Linked DNA regions of Homo sapiens: region 2 is linked to region 1. The links are contacts of gene promoters, found by promoter capture Hi-C in human tissues and cell types (Jung and others, 2019). All regions are on one chromosome and are shown on one strand. The core of a region is centred on a gene start or on the middle of the fragment in contact, and the rest is flanking DNA. Distances in the headings are between cores, read along the strand shown. Region 1 holds the start of IRAK3 (interleukin 1 receptor associated kinase 3). Region 2 overlaps GRIP1 (glutamate receptor interacting protein 1).

Region 1 (5,574 bases), core at 213-2,712:
CCATGTAAAGCATGAATATCTGGATTTCAATGCTATCAACAGAAAGAGAGAGAATAATCTGCCTCACTAATTTACCACACCCACCTGGCCCCATTCACCAACATTAAACTGGACTAAAAACACTTTTCTTTCTCAAAGTCAGTAACTCTAGGAAATCAACGGGTATAAATACTGTCCACGCCAAAATCCATCTCAAAAAGATCTGATGGGGAAGTGACCTTATCCCTCAAAATCCCTCAAATGCACACTGGAAATCTCGTTTTCTAGAAATCAGACTTTTTTTTTTTTCTTAAGGGCCATAACTTAAAATTACAGAGCTTAAAATATATAAACATTTTTTGTATAACCAGAAGCCCATTGCTACAATTCAAAGACTGTCACCATACTGTTCATCAGTAACAAAGAAAACTCTCCTCTTAGGCCTTCTGCTAGTCCTGGTAAGAAAAATCCTATTTCAGACCATTAAAGCTAAGTTATTTTGACATAATCATGATTCTTTTCAATAAACATTAAACATGACATTGTGGAATATCAAATCTAACCAAAAATGCCTGTACTTAACAAAACGAAGATTTTTGTCCGAATTATCTCTGGCTACACTCAACACTTCCAGCAGGCAGTTGCTCAACTTTCCAATGTCTGCATAAAATACAGTTCTGAAGCCAATTTTTTTAGATTAAAATAAAAAGCCACCCTTTAGCATAAACCTTCATTCAACGAAATTGGGTAAATAAGATTTAATTAAGAAAATTAGGAGCCGCGTTCATTGCAAACCGTAGTTTACTTTAGCATTTCACTTGTAATTAAGTTAGGGGCTTAGGGATGCATTGAAAACACCAAAGGATAAGTATCTCAAAGTTCTAAAAATGTCTCAATACTAAAATGATGTTCTGGGGTGATTTTGCAAGGACCAGAAGACATCATACATTGCGAACCCAGTGAGGGTGGCATCGCGGACGAACAGAAGATGCTTTCACGCTGGTTATCTGTCTTTCCCAGGCCTCGGCTCCCTTGACTTTGCAGCGATACCCAAAATTCTTTGAAAGAGAAGGGAGGGAAGGCATCTGGGTCCCAGGGAGTCTCTGCATCCAACCCAGGAAAGGAGGGGGCCGGCTCCCTGGCGGGAACTTCCCGGAGGCCGCGCCAGCCCCGCGAGGGACCCCAGCCATGCAGGGCGACGCCGAGCGGGCCCCGCGGCGCGCTGGGCTCCCCCGCCGCCCCCGGCCGGTCCCCGCCGACTCACCCAGGCCGCGCCAGCCCAGCGCGCCGTCGCAGCTGTCCAGAACAGCGCAGAGCTCTCCGAGCAGCGCGGGCGGCAGGTCGAACAGCAGCGTGTGCGCCGACAGCGCGCCGCGGGCCCCACAGTTCCCCGCCATGGCTCGGCTGCCCGAGCCCCGGGGACGAGGCGGAGTCCAGGTCCCTGCACGCCTGCGACAGGCCGTTACACAACCGCGGAAATCCTGCTTCCACGACGGCAGCAGAGCCCTAGGAACACGCCGTTCTCCGGTCACTGCAGGGGCGGTGCCCACGTGACGCAAGGCGCGCCTCGCCCGAGATGCCCCTGCGTCCGCCTGGCCAGGCCTGGGGGTTACCCGACCCGGGTTCTCCCTTCGCTGGCTTTGCGCCCCTTCACACCTCTGCGGTGGGGACGGAGCTGCCGAGACAAGCAGAGTGCGAACTGGAGAAAGCCCAGAGCTCAGAGCTCCCAGGAGCCCACCGTGCCCCACGGCTAGGCGGTCTCCTGGTGTGGACGGCTAGCGGTGTCATTACTTCTTACAAAAGTTTATTTTTGAAAGCTTCTCCCTTCCTTCCTTCTTCCCTTCCTTTCTTTTCTTCCTTTTTTCTTTGTTTTGAGTCAGGTTCTCACTCTGTCGCCCAGGCAGGAGCGCAGTGGCGCTATCTCAGCTCACGGAGCCTCCACCTATTGGGCTCAAGCGATCCTCCCACCTCAGCCTCCCGAGTAGCTGGGACCACAGTCGCACGCCACCACGTCCGGCTAATTATTTTTTTTCGTTTTTCGTAGAGAGGGAGTGTCGTTATGCTGCCCAGGCTGGTTTCAAACTCCTGGCCTCAAGCGATCCTCCCACCTCCGGCTTCCCAAAGTGCTGGGATTCGGGGTGTTAGCCACTGTCCCGGACTACTTCTTTTTTATCCTGTCAGAAAAACTATCCATGTTCATCGAGGAACACTTGGAAAACCCAGAAAAAAACTGAAAAAAGAAGATAATCACTCACAACCCCACTCAGCCCATCACACTCTAAAAGTTTTGACACATTTTCCTCCCAACTTTTACTGAATTTAAACAGATAAAAATGTACATATATGGGATTATTATTGGAAAAGATGAATGTAGATACCAACAAGAGAAAAACAGAAAAGACACCAAATCAGCGTAAAATTATGTTCGTTTTCTTCACGAGGCGGCCTCTCCTCCATACACCTACTTGGTTTTAATAAATTTTCTTCCTCATGGGCTTCCTTGATGAAATATCGTTCCATCATTTTTTCCTTCCTCAAAGTGCTTCACACAATCTTCCTTTTTGCCTTCAACATGGAGTTTAAGTAAAATTGTTGTTTTGAAATCTTCACGGAGTTTAAGTAAAATTGTTGTTTCAAAATCTTCTAGGTCACATGAGGCATGTTACCAGTGACAAAAAGTTGTTTTGAAAGTGGTGAGAAAAATCTCAGCCTTAGTGACTGGAAGAGTGGGCAGTGGCCATCAAGTGAAAACACCAGAGGTGTTTTGAAACCTCTCAGATTGTAGTCTTTGGAATAGCTGCCCCTAGAGATCACGAGTGATGAAACACTATCATTTCATGCCCCTACCTGAATGGTTTTGCCAGCGAAAATACTTCATAAAAATGTATCTGAAAACTGGCAAAGCCCATACTGTGTGGGCAAGAATTTCGATATCCCGTTGTTCAAGGTTTTATTGTCAATCTGTACACACTGTACACCTACCTACCTTCCTTCCTTCCTTCCTTCCTTCCCTCCTTTCTTCCTTCCTTCCCTCCTTTCTTTCTTATTTGTTTTTTTTAGTCGCTCTGATTGCCCAGGTTGGGGTGCAATGGTGCGATCTCGGCTCACTGCAACTTCCACCCCCTGGGCTCAAGCCATCCTCCCACCTCAGCCTCCAGTACAGCTGGGACTACAGGTGCATGCCACCATGCCTGGCTAACCTTTGTAGTTTTTGTAGAGACGGGGTTTTCCCATGTTGCTCAATCTGGTCTCAAACTCCTGGGCTCAAGTGATCCACCTCCCTAGGCCTCCCAAGGTTCTGGGATTACAGGCATGAGCCACCACACCCGGCCCTCTATACATCTCTTAAAGGGACTACCTGAACATGCTGAGCAACAGAGGCAAAAGGCCATTAATTATTTGGTAGCTTTTGAATTGCTACTACAGGGAGGCAAACTCACTCAGAGGAAACAGGAAATCACTGCAGATGAGGGAAGCAATCAGAAAGGCCTGCTTTACCAGATCTTGTAATTTACCAAGAAGCAAGGATCCTAAGTGAAAGCTAGAGTATGTGAAATTTCCTGTATTTTCAGTGTTGGCAGTCGTTCTCAGACCATGTTGCCTTCCTATTCCTAAAACTGTCTTGAGTTTTGATTTTTATATCATCAGGTTGTATCATCATGGTTGCTATCAACTGCTGATCTCCCCGACTCCAATTCCTTCTCCTCGTTTTTAGACTCTCTAGCTCCTGGCTCATTGTTGCTCTCTCCAGTACTAATCCTATCTTAGTTCTCAGTGATTTAAAATATATGTAGAATAACTATTCACAATAGCAAAGACATGGAATCAAGCCAAATGCCCATCAATGATAGACTGGATAAAGAAAACGTGGTATGTATACACCATGGAATACTATGCAGCCATAAAAAGGAATGAGATCATGTCCTTTGCAGGGATAGGGATAGAGCTGGAGGCCATTATCCTCAGCAAACTAACACAGGAACAGAAAATCAAATACTGCATGTTCTCACTTATAAGTGGGAGCTGAACCATGAGAACACATGGACACTTGGTGGGGAACAATGCATACTGGGGCCTGTCAGGGGAGGGGGTAGGGGGAGGCAGTGAATCAGAAGCAATAGCTAATAGATGCTGGGCTTAATACCTAGGTGGTGGGATCATCTGTGCAGCAAACCACAATGGCACATATTTACCTATGTAACAAACTGCACATCCTGCACATGTACCCTAGAACTTAAAATAAAAGTTGATGAAACAAAATTAAAACATACACACACACACACACACACACACACATATATATATATATATATGTAGAATAGATGGTGATCTTTCCAATGCCCTGGCCTCTCATTTCCTTGACTCCTCTTCTCTGGTGACATTGTACTCCACCCAATGCTCCATTTCAGACACTTACTCCCATGAGCGTCCCCTAGAATTTGTCATTATCAATAGCTGCATCCCATCTATAATTTCTTTCATGAATCCACTCTCTGATCATACCTCCTGTCTTTCTAGCACATTCCCTCTAGTACTCTGACCCCAACAATCCTGTCCCTTCACCAGATATCCAATCCAAAATCTTGCTGCCTCTTTTCTGGCTCCACCCTCTTGACATCCTGACTTTTCTGCTTATCCATTAAGTCTGTGGTCAATTATTTTATTCACTCCTTTGCATATGCTCTACATTCCCTTGCTCCTCTCTCACTTTGTTGAGCTCTCTTGGCAAGTTTGCAATTCTGATTAAATCCAATTTTCTAAGTTGGCTCCACACCCATGCACCTGAGTGTAGCTGGGGAACGGGGTGGAAAACCAAAATCCTGTTAATTGAACTCAATTTAAAATCAAGGCCAAGACTCTCAAGTGGGTCCTTTATGCCACTGGACAAGCATACTATGCACCTTTAGCCCATGCATTCTTCTGGTCTCCTTGAAAGCTATGCTATACTTTCTTTTTTCTCAACTCCCATCATCCTGTCCTCCACCAATTATCTTGAGAATATTTATTGAGAATACTGATGCATCAGGAAAAAACTTCCACGGAATCTCACTACTACATCGAACTATCTACTAGCATCTTTGCCAACATACTCTTTCTTCGTGTTTTCCATGGATGAATTATCTAGGGTCCTATGTAAATCATTATACTTCGTTTGTGCACTGGATCCTATCCCTATTACCATTTCAAAGGCATCAAGGGCACATGCTTTCCCTGGTCCCTGTTACATGATCAGTTTTTCACTCTTTACCACCTCAATTCCATCAGCATACAAATATGATGTTGTTTCTTTCAACTTAAACCAAAATTTTTTTAAATTTTATTATTATTATACTTTAAGTTTTAGGGTACATGTGCACAACGTGCAGGTTTGTTACATACATATACATGTGCCATGTTGGTGTGCTGCACCCATTAACTCATCATTTAGCATTAGGTATATCTCCTAATGCTATCTCTCCCCACTCCCCCCACCCCACAACAGGCCCTGGTGTGTGATGTTCCCCTTCCTGTGTCCATGTGTTCTCATTGTTCAATTCCCACCTATGAGTGAGAACACGTGGTGTTTGGTTTTTTGTCCTTGCGATAGTTTGCTGA
Region 2 (5,746 bases), core at 615-3,114, 430 kb before region 1:
GAAACTAAAAAAGTAGGCAGGGACCAGGTAACAGAGAAAACCATGTGCCATGTTGTCTGGACCTTAAGATCAATTGGAAACAGTATTCAGTTGCCTGGCATGCTTGCTCTTTAGCCTCTCACATTGTATATATATTTTTTGGTTTTAATGGGTACATAGTATGTATTCATGGGGTATATGAGATGTTTTAATACAGGTATATCATGTATAATAATTACATTAGGGTAAATGGGGTATCCAGCATCTCAATTATCTTTTTTTGTGTTGCAAACAATCCAAATATATTTCCTTATTTTTAAATGCACAATAAATTATTGTTGACTGTAGCCACCCTGTTGTGCTATCAAATACTAGATCTTATTAGATCTTATTCATTCTATCTATATTTTTGTACCCATTACCCATCCCCACTTCCTCTCCCTCCTCCATCACATTGTATTTGTTTGGAATTTATTTGGGGCAAAAGTGACTTGTAGCATAACTCAAGGGTTCTGCTTAGAAATTAATTGTATTATAGGTTAATCAAAGTGGAATCAGTACAGTGATTTCTTGGATATGACACCAAAAGCACAGCCACCAGAAGAAAAAAAAGGATAAACTGGACTTCTCCAAATTAAAACCTTTTGTACATCAAAGTACATTATTGACAGAATGAAAAGGCAACCCATGGAATGGGAGAAAATATTTGCAGATCATATATCTGACAAAGAATATCCAAAATATATAAAGAATTTTACAACTCAACAGCAAAAGCAAAAACAAACAACCTAACTCAAAGATGGGCAAAGGACTGGAAAAGACCTTTGTCGAAAGAAGATACACAAATGGGCCATAAGCACAAGAAAAGATACTCAGCAATACTAGACATTAGGGAGATGCAAATCAAAACCATAGTAAGATAGCACTTTATATCCATTAGGATGGCTATTAAAAAACAGAAAATAGCAAGTATTAGCAGGAATGTGGAGAAACTGTAACCCTTTTGCATTACTAGAGGGAATATAAAATAGTGTAGCTGCTGTGGAAAACAGTTTGGGGATTCCTCAAAAACTTAAACATAGAATTAACATATGATCCACAATTCCACGCCTACATATATACCCCAAAGAATTGAAAGCAGGGACTCAAACAGATACTTGTACCTCACTGTTCAGAGCAGCATTATTCACAATAGCCAAAAGGTGGACACGAGCCAAATGTCCATCAACAGATGAATAAACAAAATGTATACATACAAGGGAATATTATTCAGCAATAAAAGGTAATGCAGTTTGATACATCTTGAAATGTGGATACACTTGGAAGACATTATGCTAAGTGAAAAGGCCAGATACAAAAGGACACACATTATGTCACTGCCCTATGTGAGTTGCCTAGAATAGGCAAATTCATAGAGACAGAAAGTAGAATAGAGGTTACCAGGAACTGTGGGGGGACAATGGGAAGTTATTGTTTAATTAGTACAAAGTTTCAGTTTGGGATGATAAAAAAAAGTTCTGAAGATAATAGGGGTGATGGGTGCACAACACTGTGAATGTACTTAATGTTGTTGAACTGTATACTTAAAAATTGTTAAAATGAACAATTTGTGTTATGTCTATTTTACCATAATATAAAAAATGTAAATGAAATCGCTCTGCTTTGCAATTTATAAAATGCTTTTCCAAAAATATGTTAAAACTTTTCTAAATACAGTAATTTCTGAAAACTTAATTTATTCATTATCTTTTGCCTCTGGGATTTGGAAGAGTCTAAACCTGAGTGAATTAGGGAAGTTTGGGCAGGAAAAGTGAATCATCATGCTGCAGCCTCCAGTCTTCAAAAGAATTTCTACAACCAACCCTTAATTTATGATGAGGAAGAAGCAGCTTATGCACCACTCTTCCCCCTCCTCCCCTGGCCATTAAAAGTCTGGGGGGGAGGGGTTGGGGGGGTGAGGGGTGGGAAGAGTGTCATAAGAAGAGAAAGAGAGCGAGAGGGAGAAAAGGAAGGAAGGAAGGCAGGAAGGAGAAATAAAGAAAAAGAAAAAAAAGAAAAAGAAAGAGAAAGAATGCACTGATCAGCAGCTTTGTAAAGGCACAGTATCCTCAGAGAGCTATTACCTGGAGTGTAAAATCAATCCCACCAGCTTCTTAGCCATGTTTATTGTTCTTTGAACATCTCTTATTGTTAACATCAGCCTGATAATGAAGTAGAATGTCCAGAAGGTGAGAGTGGAAGCTTTCCCATGGTTCTAAAGCAGCCTACTCAGGAATGTGAATCAAAGGAAAATCAATTCATTGCTCCACTCATGGCTGAAAATTATATTGTCCTTTTGGGTACAGGGAATCAAAGGTCCTGGATGGTGGCATTGCATCCATGTGTCTTCATAACTAACATTGAACCTAATTTTGAGAGCTCCCTCAGCAGATCATTGGCAGAAATCATCAAAATACCTTTAGGCCCTAGCTAGTCACTCTTGAGAGGAATTGAATGACTCATTTTAATCTAAGACTGCCAGGGTACCGTTACTTGCACATATTCATATTCTTCAGGATGTGTGGAGCACACAATTTGTGAAGTCATGAACTGAGTTTGAATCTCTGCTCCACTACTTTCTACCTATGTAAACTTGAGCAGGTAGCTTAATGCCTCTGAGCTTTGATCTCCATATATTATCTGTATTATATGGATGATAGCGACTCATCAAATGAAGTAATGGATGTAAAGTCTCACTGAAATTATGAAATGTTTTCTAAAGAAGAGTTGTTGCTACTAGAGGTTTTTAAGAGGCAGTAAGTTCAACCCCAAAGGATCAATTACTTTTACTTCCCCTTTAACAATTAAAAACAATATAATAGTAACTGGTATTTTAAAATCTTACCCTTTTTAACCCTCTGTACATGCAGAATTTCCTTTGGATGTTGCTCTTTCACTGGACAATAAAATTAGATGGATAATATCTAGTCATCTGTTTTTTGCAACCACTTTTAGAAGGTTTTTGCTTCATAATTGCCCTCAAATCTTTTTATTTCCTCCTTTTGGTTTTCTTGCACAAAGCAGATAAAAATTAAAAAGTTTAATAAATTGGCCATTGTGTAACCCTCATTGATTTTATTTCCATGTTCATGTATGGCCCTTTTTTCTTTTACTTCTGGCACATGGCAACACTGGAACCTTACTGCTCTAATTTTTGAAGTGGGCCTTTAGTGCAAATTTTGTGGGCTGCTATTTTTGTCAAAGGTGCCACTAAGAGGAAAGAAAATAGTCCCTAAGTGTGGTTGATTTGTGGAGGGCAAGGAAATCTACCCGTAATGGCTCTCTTTCCTTATGTTCATTTTTTCTACTCTAGAATACTCATTAGGCCCTATGGTCTAGTACCTGGTTCTCATGGGTCATTTTAAAATTATGAATTATGAACATAATGTGCCCATCCAAAAGTACCTTTTATAGGCTTTGTACTCTGTTTTAAAAGAGAAATAGCACTCATATTTTAGTGCTGCTTGCTGCTCACCCTATGGATCCCAAACTATTTCTCTATTCACAGGGTTTACTTTGACTTTAATGTATATGTTCTAGTTTATCTTATTTTGTCTTATCTTGATCTTCATTCCTTGGGTTCTTTCTTTCATTTTTAATTGCACAAAGAAGACCTCAAACAACTGTAACAACAACAACAAAGCTTGAAGGAAACGTTGTTTACACTTTTATCTGAGTATTTGCTTCGGTTCATATCTGCCTGAACATCCTTTTTTGAAACAGAATAATACGAGTTCGAATTTCTCAGTATTCAAAACCTACGATAAATAAATATATTCTTTATTTATCCTACCAAGATGACGTGATAGCTACTGAACATCTCATTTTTTGTTTTTACTATAGATGATGATGGTGCTTGCCTTTTTTCAGCAGTCTCCATCCAATAAGCTTTAATTCCTAATTGTTTTACAAGTATGAAGTGAAGGAAAGTTCATTCACAACATGCATTAGTGGATATTGATAAATAAACATTTCATTATGCACATGTATTAATAAAATGTCTTTCAATGTTAATCTTTTTATATTTACTAGACTTTGTTGGCAAAGAAAGTTGCAAAAGATATTTTAAGTATATTCAGTAATATATATGCAATATGTTTTTGGAAAATTCAGAAATTATGACATCCTAATCAATCATGCTTTATTTTTACTTTTTTTTAATAGATAGATTCAAAGCAGGTAGTTTCTAGTACAGCCTTATGATTCAAAGCTCAAAACATATGAGAAGATATATGGTGAAAAGATTCACTCTCCTCCATATCCCCCACCAGCCAGTTTCTACTTCGTACACAAAATGAAAACCACTTTTATTGGTTTCTTAGAATTCTTCCAGATGTTCTTTATGCAAATAGAAGCAACTATAAATTTATATTCGTAATTTTCTGTTTTTAAAACAAAATATAGCATATGCACACTGCTCTGCACTTCGCTGCTTCCACTGAAAATATATCTTGGAGATCTTTGCATGTTGGCACAACAGGTGCCTGTCACTACACCTACTGATTTCTTGTTGTTGTACTACTCTATTTAGCCAATTCTTTATTTAGAAACATTTGAGTTGTTTCCAGTCTGTTTGAAGTTTTGAGCTATTTCAAATATTGTGTTATTATGAAATTGCTATAACGAATATATTTATTATGTACATGGGAAGACATATCTGTAAGATAAATCACAGTAGTAGAATTCTGGGTCAAATGGTATATGCATGTATAATGTTGATAAATACTGCCAAGTTGTCCTCTTTAAAGGTTATATCAGATCATATTCCCACCTGAAATGTATGAGAGTAAGTTTCCCCACAGCCTGAAAAGCATGTATGTTGATCAACTTGCAAGTTTTTGCTAATCTAAGAAGTGAAAAAGATTATATTTCCTGTGGCTTTAATATGCATTTCTTATGAGTGAAGTTGAACATCTTTTCTTTCATGAGCCAGTAGTATTTCTTTTTCTGTGAATTTCTGTTAATAACATAAGCCCATTTTATAATGTTTTTTGGTTATGATGTGTTAAAATCAAGAATAAGTTAATATCCCAGATTTGGAATATCTTAAAAACTGAGCTCTAATCAAAGCCAGTCTCTCTGTGGCCAGACTCTTGGAATATGTCCACTGTGGGTAGTAAAGTGGGATATTCAGATCATCCCTGGAACTTCCACTTTCTTTGGAAAGTGGTTCTAATTAATATTGAGAGAAATAAAGAGAGAATGTGATGAAGCATTCATATTGCTAAATTAGTTCATGTGGTGATTCAAGTTCGCTGATATCATTAGCTTTGATTAAACATCATTCTTGTAAAAACAATTAAGAACTAAAGCCTATTAGATGGATAATGTCACTAAAGAAGACTAATAAGACCACCATTGCAGTAACTTGCAAGCATCTTTTTTTTTTTTTTTTTTTTTCTTGTTGGCTGTGTGGAGGAAACAGGCAGACCTGAGATGGATTCTTTTTGAATAATTAAAGCAAAGTTGTCTCTTGGTCCCAACACAGAGGTTATTTTCTGAAATGGAAAGGGACCTACAGTTATAACTCTCTTCACCTCCCCCATCTACACACGTGCAGACACACACACACACACACACACACACACACACACACACACAAAACGTCTGTTGCTTGTCAAGTTGCTCCCTAACTCTTAGGGAAACAACCTTTGTTTCCTTTCTCCTGTGCCTTCCCTCTCAGGAACAGATAGACCTTTCAGAGCATGCATCTGCACGCCCGAGGCCC

The links. Contacts are between HindIII fragments. The study calls those that stand out against the background at their distance.
Region 2: a fragment that was not itself captured here is called in contact with the fragment with the promoter of IRAK3 in region 1 in 1 of the 25 tissues and cell types used here (lymphoblastoid cells).

The regions. Positions count from the first base shown.
Region 1 is chr12:66,185,102-66,190,675 of GRCh38, reverse strand. It overlaps IRAK3 (interleukin 1 receptor associated kinase 3), which reads right to left and starts at 1,462. Exons shown (of 12, transcript NM_007199.3): 1 at 1,244-1,462. The coding sequence starts at 1,376. RefSeq lists silencers at 1,128-1,287, 1,308-1,357. The HindIII fragment of the contact is 8,386 bases long and covers 1-5,067 here.
Region 2 is chr12:66,616,959-66,622,704 of GRCh38, reverse strand. All of the region lies in intron 1 of GRIP1 (glutamate receptor interacting protein 1), which reads left to right. Among named protein-coding and RNA genes, the nearest start is that of GRIP1, 59 kb to the left of the region's middle. The HindIII fragment of the contact is 3,841 bases long and covers 1-3,784 here.